4 separate regions of the Homo sapiens genome follow, and all the other regions are linked to region 1. Evidence: promoter capture Hi-C in human tissues and cell types (Jung and others, 2019). All regions are on one chromosome and are shown on one strand. The core of a region is centred on a gene start or on the middle of the fragment in contact, and the rest is flanking DNA. Distances in the headings are between cores, read along the strand shown.

The links. The method cuts DNA at HindIII sites, captures the fragments that hold promoters and counts their contacts. A contact is called where the count stands out against the background at its distance.
Region 2: a contact is called between a fragment that was not itself captured here and the fragment with the promoter of FOXA1 in region 1, in 1 of the 25 tissues and cell types used here (dorsolateral prefrontal cortex).
Region 3: a fragment that was not itself captured here is called in contact with the fragment with the promoter of FOXA1 in region 1 in 1 of the 25 tissues and cell types used here (dorsolateral prefrontal cortex).
Region 4: a fragment that was not itself captured here is called in contact with the fragment with the promoter of FOXA1 in region 1 in 3 of the 25 tissues and cell types used here (H1 embryonic stem cells, dorsolateral prefrontal cortex and spleen).

What each region holds. Positions count from the first base shown.
Region 1 is chr14:37,593,995-37,596,694 of GRCh38, forward strand. FOXA1 (forkhead box A1) reads right to left here and starts at 1,255. Exons shown (of 2, transcript NM_004496.5): 1 at 907-1,255. The coding sequence starts at 978. TTC6 (tetratricopeptide repeat domain 6) reads left to right here and starts at 1,635. Exons shown (of 33, transcript NM_001310135.5): 1 at 1,635-2,014. RefSeq lists enhancers at 1,191-2,050, 1,564-2,700. The HindIII fragment of the contact is 7,361 bases long and covers 1-2,700 here.
Region 2 is chr14:37,807,393-37,810,132 of GRCh38, forward strand. TTC6 (tetratricopeptide repeat domain 6) reads left to right here. Exons shown (of 33, transcript NM_001310135.5): 25 at 1-68; 26 at 1,341-1,454. Among named protein-coding and RNA genes, the nearest start is that of LINC00517, 93 kb to the right of the region's middle. The HindIII fragment of the contact is 6,001 bases long and covers 1-2,740 here.
Region 3 is chr14:37,789,096-37,791,795 of GRCh38, forward strand. It overlaps TTC6 (tetratricopeptide repeat domain 6), which reads left to right. Exons shown (of 33, transcript NM_001310135.5): 18 at 1,622-1,742. Among named protein-coding and RNA genes, the nearest start is that of LINC00517, 110 kb to the right of the region's middle. The HindIII fragment of the contact is 5,054 bases long and covers 1-2,700 here.
Region 4 is chr14:37,828,623-37,831,322 of GRCh38, forward strand. All of the region lies in intron 31 of TTC6 (tetratricopeptide repeat domain 6), which reads left to right. Among named protein-coding and RNA genes, the nearest start is that of LINC00517, 72 kb to the right of the region's middle. The HindIII fragment of the contact is 4,635 bases long and covers 1-2,700 here.

The DNA.
Region 1 (2,700 bases), core at 5-2,504:
ATAAATCTAAATAAGTCAGTTACCATCAAAATATTACGTGATCCTATATTTTTCTGTCCACGTCTTAAAAGTATTTTTTACCTTGGGGCTTTATTTTCTTTCCCTCTTCCCAAGATTATCCAAGGCAGTTCCAATACGCGTTTTCAATAATGGTAATTAAACTTTTGGAGGGTAATCGCCAGCTGTTTCCAGAAAAATACTTTTAATAGGTGGTAGTCCTCCCTGTAACTGGTTTTCCCTGTAATCCTTTTGTGCACATTGTAAAAATAACCCCCATGAACGTGCCACCAAGGGGACAATGAAGAGAAACAGGTTCTCGGCCCAGAGTTGTGAAGAAGATTTTGGTCGCACTAGCGCCACCCAGCGGTTTTAGAGAAGGAGCACACTTCTCCCCAAATAGGGCTTTTGAAGAACAAGTTTTACAAAATTTAGAAATCGTTTCATTATTGAGACACCCAACTTGGCGGCAGAGCGCTTTAATCAGAAGACGTCTGCGAATTAAACGGTGGGACGAAGAGGTCGCCTTGTGGGTATGCTCCGGCTTTCTCAGAGTTGCTTCCAACTCGCACCGGCGCTCGCCCGCCCGCTGCACCCCGGGCCCGGCTCCTGCTCCCGCTCGCTGCTGGGAAGAGGCAAGCGCTTCCTAGAGCCGCTGTTTTCAAAGCCCGGAGTTTCCTAAAACTCCCTCTCCGGCTGCGAGAGTCGGGACAGAGCAGGGCAGCAGGTCCCGCTTCCAGGCCCGGCCAAGGCCCGGCCGGGGCCACACCGGCGGGCGGGCAGCGGTGGCACCGAGAAGGCGCCCCCGGCCCGCCTGCCTGCCTTGCCTGGCGCCCACCGCTCCCCGGCCTCCCCCGGCACGGGCTCCAGCGGCGCCCCACCGGCCGCCCGCCTCGCCTTGCCTCTCACCTCCTGCGTGTCTGCGTAGTAGCTGTTCCAGTCGCTGGTTTCATGCCCTTCCATCTTCACAGTTCCTAACATCCTGGAGCCACCCTGCCCAATACAACCATCCAGCCCTGTGCGAAGCGACGGGCGGCCGCGCGGCGCGGGGCGGGGGAGGGGAGCTGAGCAGCTGCAGTCACCCGAGCGCCCGCGCGGGCCCAACGCCACCCGGGCGAAGAGGAAGCCCAGAGCTGCGGGGCGCGGCGTGCGCGGCGGCGGCGGCGGCGCGGCGGGCGGGGGCAGCGCCGGGGGCAGGCGGCTGCCGCGGAGCGCGGCGCCGGGGAGCGCCTCCGCGGGAAGTGAGCGGGCTGCCTCTGCGAGGCAAGTGCAGTTGAGCTGATGTGGATCTTACGTCGCTTGAGTGCCCACCTCCTCGTCCTCTCCCCATTTGTCCGCCGCACAAAGACGCTCGCACCTACAAAGCCCGAGGTGCACCTGCAAGGCGGCCGCCCGCCAGTCCGGCCGCCGCGCCTCCCGCCCCGCCGCTTCACCGCTGCGCGCGACCCCTCCCCCGCGACCCCTCCCCCAAGCGGGGCCCTCACTTTGTTTGCAAAGCAGTGTAATTGGTTTAGGCCCGGAGGCTAGGGAAAGAGGGAAATGGGGAGGGAGGGGGTGTAACCCCCTTTGGAAAAAGAAAAAATAGGCGGGGCCAGGCGGGCGGGCGGGCTAGGGCTCTGGATCGGAACCTCGCAGCCGGAGAAGGCCGGGGGCGGTGGCGTCGGAGACTGGGCTTAGAGACCTTGTGGGATAACTGACCCCGGGGTCCCTCCCCAGAGGTACACGCCACCTTCCGAGCGCGGGCTGCGGCCCAGTCTCGCGCCCCTCCTGCTCTTTGCTTCCTCCCTCCTGATTCCTGACCCAAAGTTCAACCCCGGGAGACTGGAGAATACAGACTTTTTTTTTTCTTTCCTCCTGAGAGCTTCAGACTAGAAAAGGGAAAAAGCCCCACTTTTGCTTCGTCACTAGAAACCGGGTCATCTGAGTCAGCCGAGCCAAGTGACGTTAGGCCGACCCGGGCCCCGGGCTAGCAGAGCGGAGGCGCTGCCACGAAACTCGTACCTGCGGCTAAGAGCAGGTGAGTCACAGCACCGGTTTATATCTTTATGACATAACTTTTTTTTTTTGTTCCGCCTCGGTCCGCTCCTCTCCCCTTGTCATCTGTAGCGACCACAAAGAGGAAGAAACTGAGAGCAGATGTCTGTGTGATAGGGCAGGCGGACCCAAGTCGGGCCGTCCTCCCCCTGCCGGGCTCCTCCTCCCGCCCCCCTTCAGCCGCTTCAGGGAGTGAGCTGGAGACGACCGTCTGGTTTCTGATAGGAAAAGGTCAGGGGGAGGGGACATCTCCCATAACACGCGCGTTAGCTGGGAGAGCAAGGGCCTGGGCGCGGGAACGCATCTGCACTGCGAAAGAGATGCCAGGCAGAAGCCCGAGACTGCCCGCAGCGGCGCTTGGTCCTGTCTGTGACCCGGAGGGTCCGGGCTGAGATCTCAGGGGCTCGCTTGGTTCCTAATCGGTCCTGGACGTCGGTGGGAGAGTCTTCCCAACGCAAAGTCTCTTTACTCTCATGAGGCCCTGGGTGGTGGTTGCCCACTTGTCCTGGGAGAGAGAACAACTGAAGTGACCGGGTGATAGGCAATTAGTTGGTGATAGATTGGGAGATGGTGCGTGTGTTTTGAGTGTGTGACCGTTTGTATATTTCTGAGCATGTGTGACTGTGTGTGTTTCTGAGTGTCTGTGACCATGTGTTTGTTGTACTGCCT
Region 2 (2,740 bases), core at 32-2,531, 210 kb after region 1:
CTATTAAAATTTACCCTGAAAGCGTACGTGCCTATCTCTACAGAGGAGTTCTGAAATACTACAACAAGGTAGGGCCATTTCCTGCCTGGTTTACCGAAATTTTAGGGTGGGCAGATTCTCTTATGCTAGGCAGGGGACTCACTTACTTTTTTTCTATGTGGTTGGGAATCACTATGATATGAAGGGCAGAACTACATAGAAAACTTTACACTTTCCCAATTCATATTTTTTTCACAAAATAATGGTATTTATTTTTGACATTTACATTTTAAATAACATTTATTATTTATTTTTATTAAGAATGTAGCATATATTCATTGTAGACAGTTTGGAAAAATATGGAAGGGAATAAAGGATTATTATCTCACCATCAATGATAATTCCTGGGTGCATTTAGCATATTTGTATTCAGTCTTTTATTTTCCTCATAATATATGATATATATTTTCCAAAATTTGGACTATGGTATTTATATAACTTGTGTGGTGCCCTGCTTTTTACACTTAATCTTTGAAGATAATATTTTGCTGACTGCATAATATTCCATGACAATTTATTTTAAATTACTTTATTGTTGAACTTTTTGATTGTTTTTAAAATTTTTACTATTATACTATTTAATATAGTTATATACAACTGAGAACAAAATTGCTGCTTGGGTTTATGATTGGTTCTTAAACAGAAGTTACTGGGTTAAAAGGTGTGACTGGCACCATTGATATGTGATACTGCACTGAATACTTTATTTCTCTCTACTTTTCTTTTCTGATCTTTCTTTGTAGCTATTTTATATGAAATATTTTGCAAATAATACCTTAAAGCAAAGGTAAGACCTTGCATTATGTGTTAATTCTATGAAAATTACTATCTACAGAAATGGGTGATATAAGGTATCAGAGAAGAATCAAAGAGGAAGCAAAAGAGAACGTGGGTAGAAAACATGACGATTATGTGATATGGTAGTCAGAGTGACAGAAGCAAGCAAGCACTGGTGAATGTTTGCTGCATTAATATGGGTGGCTTTATTTTATTTTACCTAGAAGTATGATTTTCTCCTTGCCATATACCAACATTGGTAATAAGATATTTGCCTAAATTAAAGTTGTTGATATATTTAATTTTGTTTGCAGGTAAGAGAAACTATAATGATAATTTCTACCAGGAGATTTTCTTAATTAACTCTGTGAAAGATTAGCTTCAATGTCTTAATTTCACAGATGATACAAAGAATGGTTAAATGAGTGTTTCAAAAACTCTGATAGAAACAAGAATTTATTTTATGATTAAATTTCAGTCCATTATGATTTTCCTTTCTCACATAATTACTTTTTTCTTTTTAGACTTATAAGCTAGCAATTACAGATTTAACTACAGCTATCAGCATGGACAAAAATAGTTATACAGCATTTTATAACAGAGCATTATGTTACACCAAGATAAGGGAACTTCAAATGGTAAGATGACCATTTTAGTAAACAATGTGTTTAAAGTGTTTAATAAATAACATGCATTTAATAGCTTGTGGATTTCAATCAATAAATATTTAATAAACAATATGTTAAAGCATTTGTAAACTCATTTAAGGCATTTATAAAGTATTTTCTTATTACTTCTGCTACAATTTTCAAAAGGAATTCCTAGGAAATACACACATATAAAACTTAAGAAACCAAAGAACCATTTCAAAGAATATTTAATTTCTTTGTTGGTGCTCACCAAATTTTCTTATATAATTTCTGAAAGAAGTCAAATGAAAAATTAAGTTGATAATGCTTATAGAAGTATTTAAAGGCATTTATAAATTAAATACATTACATAATTATCAATTGAATAAATGTTTCTACCATATGCAGAATTTTTTTTTTTTTTTTTTTTTTTGAGACGGAGACTCACTCTGTTGCCCAGGCTGGAGCGCAGTGGCGTGATCTTGGCTCACTGCAACCTCCGCCTCCCGGGTTCACGCCATTCTCCCGCCTCAGCCTCCTAAGTAGCTGGGACTACAGGCACCCCCAATCATGCCCTGCTAATTTTTTGTATTTTTAGTAGAGACAGGGTTTCACCATGTTAGCCAGAATGGTCTCAATCTCCTGACCTCGTGATCCGCCTGCCTCGGCCTCCCAAAGTGCAGAATTTTTAAAGCAGTAGCAATCACTAGCAATATTGTGGTTTCAAAATTTTAATATTAGCTAGAGCAGTTTGTGTAGGCATTCTTTTGTTTGGTCCTCAGACCACACATGTAGCAGGGAGGATGGAGTGATGGTTTTCAGCTCCAGGGACCAGTGACCAGGTTTGGCCTATATTTTGAAGGCCTGTGGGCTGCAGCAAACCTTTTTTTCCATTTGTCTTGATCCAGCATCTACCTGTGCAAACTCTTGTTTATATTTTGTAATCTTACCTACTCTCTTCTCTCCTGTCGGTTTGGTCCCTTTTCAATGAGGATTCCTCACTGGGGAGCAGCTAGTCTTGCGGTCTTTCAGTGTAGTGTCCCATCCTCTTTCTCTGTTACTTGTCTCACTCTCCTTATTCCTGCCCATGTCCATAGTAAATGACGCATTCTTTTAAAAGGCTAGGTCACATTCCCGCTGTTCTGTGTTCACACACTCTCCATTCTGTGAAACGTGGACAGTGAAATCTGTTTAAAACATTTAGTAATTTAGAAATGTACAAGCTTTAGAAGGGAAGTTGAGAAACATTGTCTCTACCTGAGAGGATGTAAAATTCCTGGTAACCAGATTATCAG
Region 3 (2,700 bases), core at 144-2,643, 200 kb after region 1:
ATCACCTGCAACAAAAAAGGACTCTCAAGATATTTTGCTAAGCTAATAATAATAATAATGATATCTAACATTTATTGGGCATTTTGCTACTTGCAAAGTGCTGTTTAAAGTGCCAAATAAGAAGTGTCTCAATATTCAGAGTAATGCTAGGAGCTCGGTACTATTTTCATTCACATTTTACTGATGAGAAAGCCATAGCACAGAGAGGTTAAATAATATTTTTTTTCCTTTTTCCTTAAGAAGAGTTTTTTTATTGTTTGTTAAGAGCAGCCACCCAAACTGCAGCTGATTTTTTAATTGCTAGCCAATCATACTGTGAACTGAGCAGTTAGATTTTCTTCAAGTGATAACAGTCATGCGCCACATAATGATGTTTCGGTCAAAAACGGACTGTATATACTATGGTTAAACCTGATATATGGCACTTGACATTCGCATTGTGGATCAAGTAGGGGAAACGATTGATATTCATTAATGGTGTTGGGACATTTGGTTTCCTCTTATATATATATATATATATATTGTATATACTCTATGTATATTCTATAATATATTCTATATTCTGTATATATGTATATATATAAAAATATATACCATCTAGGTTTGTGAAAGTACACTCTATGATCTTTGCACAATAAAGAAATCCCCTAATAATGCATTTCTCAGAACATATCCCTACTGTTAAGTGGTGCATGACTGTACTTCCTTAATGTGTATGATCATTGCTGACACTGGCTATAGTTCCCTAAATCCAGTACCGTGAATATTTTTGTCCTAGACTGCAAACATTATGCATATTTTGACAAAACTTTGCACCTTAAGGCAGAATGTCATGAGAAGCTTTAAAGATATCTGTCAAAACTTGTGGAAACCCCATCTAATTCACTAACATGTTTTGAAAGTGAAGGGGCAATCAGTAGGCGAGAGACATGAGATGACCTCTAGACAGGTTACTGATGAGAGTCACACACCTGGATTACTGAGAGGAGGTTCTTTTTCTCCCTTCCATTATTAGGGATGTGCATCTCGCATCTCGGATAGCTGTCATTTGGGATGTGCATAGTCAAGCCGTCCGCCTTACCTCCAAGCTCTGTTTGCCTTGGTGTAGCCTCTTTGCTTGTCCATCCCGGTTTGTGTGTGAGCCTGACCTCTGCTTTCTGCCTTCAGGACTAGTACTCAAGCCTGTTCCTTGGCCAGTAACGATGGCTTCCTGATAAAATCAGGCCATCAAGGGTCATGGCACCCTTCTGACTGGAGTTGGATTCTAGGCCAGTCTTTGCCATTGACTGGTATATCATGACCATGGTCAATGTACTTACCCCCTTTGGACTTTAATCTCCTCACCTATACGGTGAGTGGACTATGCTAGATTCCAATCAGGATTTAATTCAGCTCTAATGAGTTTGTGAACCACAATTGCCACATTGTTACTAATAAATACATTTTAATGTACAATACTATTATTTAACTTACCAAACAAGTACACTCATCATAGATATGTTTCTATTTTATATAATGTTAAAAAATGAGAATAAGCAATAGGAAGTTTACAGACTAAAGTATAATTTACCTATGGTTATTTTAGAACCTGAATGAAATACATTTTTTTAAACTTTTTAAGCACTCATAAATGATGGCTATGAGAATCTTGGTTGTTTTCTACATCGGGGAATAGTCTATGCACATCTAAAACTTTGGCTGCTGGCAATTTGTGACTTTGAAACTGTCATTTCTCTAGAAAGGTATGTTTTCCTTTTCATATTTATTGATTTCAGTTTTGTAAAAAATCGAAAACCTGAAATGGGAGAAAAAGTTTCTTTCCCCTCATCATTGATAACCTAGAAAAAATGAGACACTTATAAAGTCATCCTAGAATTAGAATACTACTTCTAAAAACAAGATTACTTCAAAAATAAAACCTGTTCTCAACATCTGTTTGCCTTGGGTGTTTTTGCAAATTTTAGAAGTTAAATGGGTTTGACAGGAGTTAAATCTATGGATAAGGAATCAATACTATTGAGGATTTTGGAGATGCCCAGGCTAGAGCTTTTTGAAATTAACTTCATGGAAAACTGTCATTAAGTTTTAAAATAATGAAAAAACATTCTGCTTGGTGTATGATTGCTATGGACAGGATACAACTCAATGGAAGGCAGCCTTCTATTTAGAACTTCTGGCTTCATTTTGTTTAGTAAAGCAAAATAAAAACACTAATACCATGTAGACCATATGTTCAGGGAGAAATATAGACTGAAAGTTAAATGCACTAGTCAGAAAGTCAAACTGTAAATCACAGAATTTAATTAAAAATTCCCCTTTTTTTCCAAAGAAGGATTTATGAAAAGGGAAGGTGTCAGAAAGAGTAACTAATCATGCCAATTCCTTGCCAACCAGCAGACTGTTTACTTAATCTATCCAAGGTAAACTTTGAACTTGACACAGGAAATTCATGGAGCATGGCTCCCATAATGACCACAGTGGTTTTCTTTTGGACATTTTTGAGCCAGAAAGAAAAAGAAAAGAGTGTCAGTTTCAAAGAGACAGAAAACAGGAAGTAGGAACTTTGGTGTCTAGGCAAGGGGTCAGGGATTCTGTGAGGTTGGATTATTGGATGGGTGGTTTTCATTTTGAAATAGAGGCATCAAACATGATAATTTCTAAGGTTATTTCTCTACTGAAAATCAGTTGATTTTAAGAGAG
Region 4 (2,700 bases), core at 86-2,585, 230 kb after region 1:
AAAGAATAAATTAACAGAGCATTTAACCAGATGGAAGGACATTTATATTTTCTACATTCTGGAATTTATTGAGTTTTAATGAAGTCTAATATAAAAACATTGTTTTGAATATGTCAGGGTCATTCCTAAGAAAGGGTATCTACTATCAGGATGTGGATTTAAGTCTACATTTAGGAAGTCTATGTTATTAATTAGTTTACATTCATACTTTTTTTTCACTTGGTTTATCTTGGACTGAGAGATTTATTCAAGTATCCTGTTATTTGAGGGTTCCTATATATTTCTCTTTGCATCTCTTGTAATGCCTGCTTTGTGAAAATTGCTGCTACATTATTTCATGTATAGATATTTATACCTAATATATATGCATTATGAATTATAGCCTTCAGCACTACAGATTTCCTCCTTTGTTTCTTTTAATACTCTGTGGAACAAATTCTCCTTTGTGTGATATGAGGATCATGACCTCTGAGACCTTCTGATTTGCTTTGCCTGGTATTCCTTTGCTTTTCCTTTTATTTTCAACTTTTAAAATCCTTTGTTTTTGGTATGTCTCTTTTATACTGTATAGAATCGGATTTTACTTTGAGAGCTAATTTGAAAATATTTTTCTTTTAATAGGCAAGTTAAGCCCATTTAATTTTGGCATGATCAATACATTTGATCTTAGTTCTGTTATTTTATGTAATGCAAGTGTGTTTATGTTAAAGGTATTTTGAAAGTATTTAACTCCCTGGTTTTTTATTTTTTGGCTTTTTTTCAGTTTTTGTAATATTTAGGAAGGTTTATAGTTTTGTTGTAGTGATTATCTTTATAAAAATAACATTAATACTCTTAGTTTAGTTTCTCTACTATGAACAACAATAAAATTACCCTGTAAACTCCTCCTCTCTCTCATTCATTATTCAATTTTAGTAATTTTTTAAAAAAAGTTTATCCTCATATTCTTAAATATGCTTGAGCTTATTATGTCAGCTTGTCACATAAACTTGGTTTCCACAGTCTCTTGGGTATAAAAATTGGTATGAATTAAGGTGAGTTAGATAATCACATCATAGGGATGGTCTTGAAGGAAGTCTAAGTAGGGGAAAGAACAGAGGATTCCAGGCTAGAAGCTGGTGACAATAGATATTGCAAGGCAAGTGCTGACACTTGGGGAAATCCAAAAGAATAGTTACTGTGGGTTCACTTGGGCAACACATAAATTAATTCTCCCATTTTGTTGTAAGTTTTATTATTTCTACACTGCCTGACCAAGATTTAATATTTATGTATTATTTTGTTACCCTTATTGCACATTTTAGTCTTAGTTCTTCAGTTAAATATATTCAGTTCTCATCACCAGACTATTTGCCAAACTCCCCTTCCCCACAATAATTTCTTGGTTGTCTGAAATTAGTCCTCTGGTAGAGTTCTAAGGAGGGGCTCCTGAGAACAATATTCCTTGGAGTTTTGCATGTTGATAGCTGTTTGCCTGTAGCCTATTTTATACCTTAAGACAGCATGGCTCCTTGACTCATTTTTCTTTCCTTGAGTGTCTTGTAAGTGCTGCTTTCTTTTCTGGTGGTATATGTTGGTGTCAAGAAGCATGATGCAAAACGGATTTTCTTTTTCTTAAAAGCAACTTGCTCTTTTTTGTCAAGATAACCACATTTTTTTTTAAGGGAAAAGTTTTACCAAGGTATTCCTTAGAGTTGACCACTGCAGGTTAAATTTATCAAGTACACAGTATATGTTTTCAGTACATAGATTTCAGATAAGTGTTGTTGAATTCAGTTAACATTTTTTTTTCTGTTTCATTGTTCTGATTTTCTTCACTGGGGATACCAATTATATAGATGTTGTATATTCCTTAATTTTGATTTATTCTTAATTTTTTTATTTCTTAATGTCTGTTTCATTTTCTTTGTCTTTCTTTTGTATTTTTCCTAAATCTTTATACTGTTTCCTGAGATACCTGTTATCCCTGTGGACCTCATAAGTTAGATTTCCTTTTTATTTTATTTTTCTAGTTCTATCCTATTTCCATGCCATTTTTTCCTGGTCACCTCTTTTCTGGGTTCCTGTATTTCTGATTCATTTTTTCTTGATGGCAATTGCTTCCTTAAAAATTTTTTTCTAAAATAGATTTTTTTAAATGAATTTTTTTCAAAATCATTTTATTTCAAAATGTTATATTTTTTATTGATACATACTAATTGTACATATTTATGGGGCACATGATATTTTGATATGTGCATACAATGTGTAATGATGAAATCAAAGTAATTGGAATATGCATCACCTCAAACATTTATCGTTTCTTTATGATGAGAATATTTCAAATCGTCTAGCCATTTTGAAATATACAATAAGTTATAACTATAGTCACTCTGCTGTGCTATCAAATACTAGAACTTATTTCTTCCATATAACTGTATTTTTGTTCCCATTAGCCAACCTGTCTTCATCCCCTCGCCCACCCCTCCCAGCCAATTGTAACCATCATTCTACTCTCTCTGTTTATGAGACAAAGTTGTTTTTTTTAAGCCTCCAAATATGAGCAAGAACATGTGTTGTCTTTCTGTACCTGGCTTATTTCACTTAACATAATGTCCTCTATGCTCACCCATGTTGCTGCAAATAATAGGATTTTATTCTTTTTAATGACACAATAGTATTCCATTGCATATATGCAACACATTTTCTTTATCTATTCAC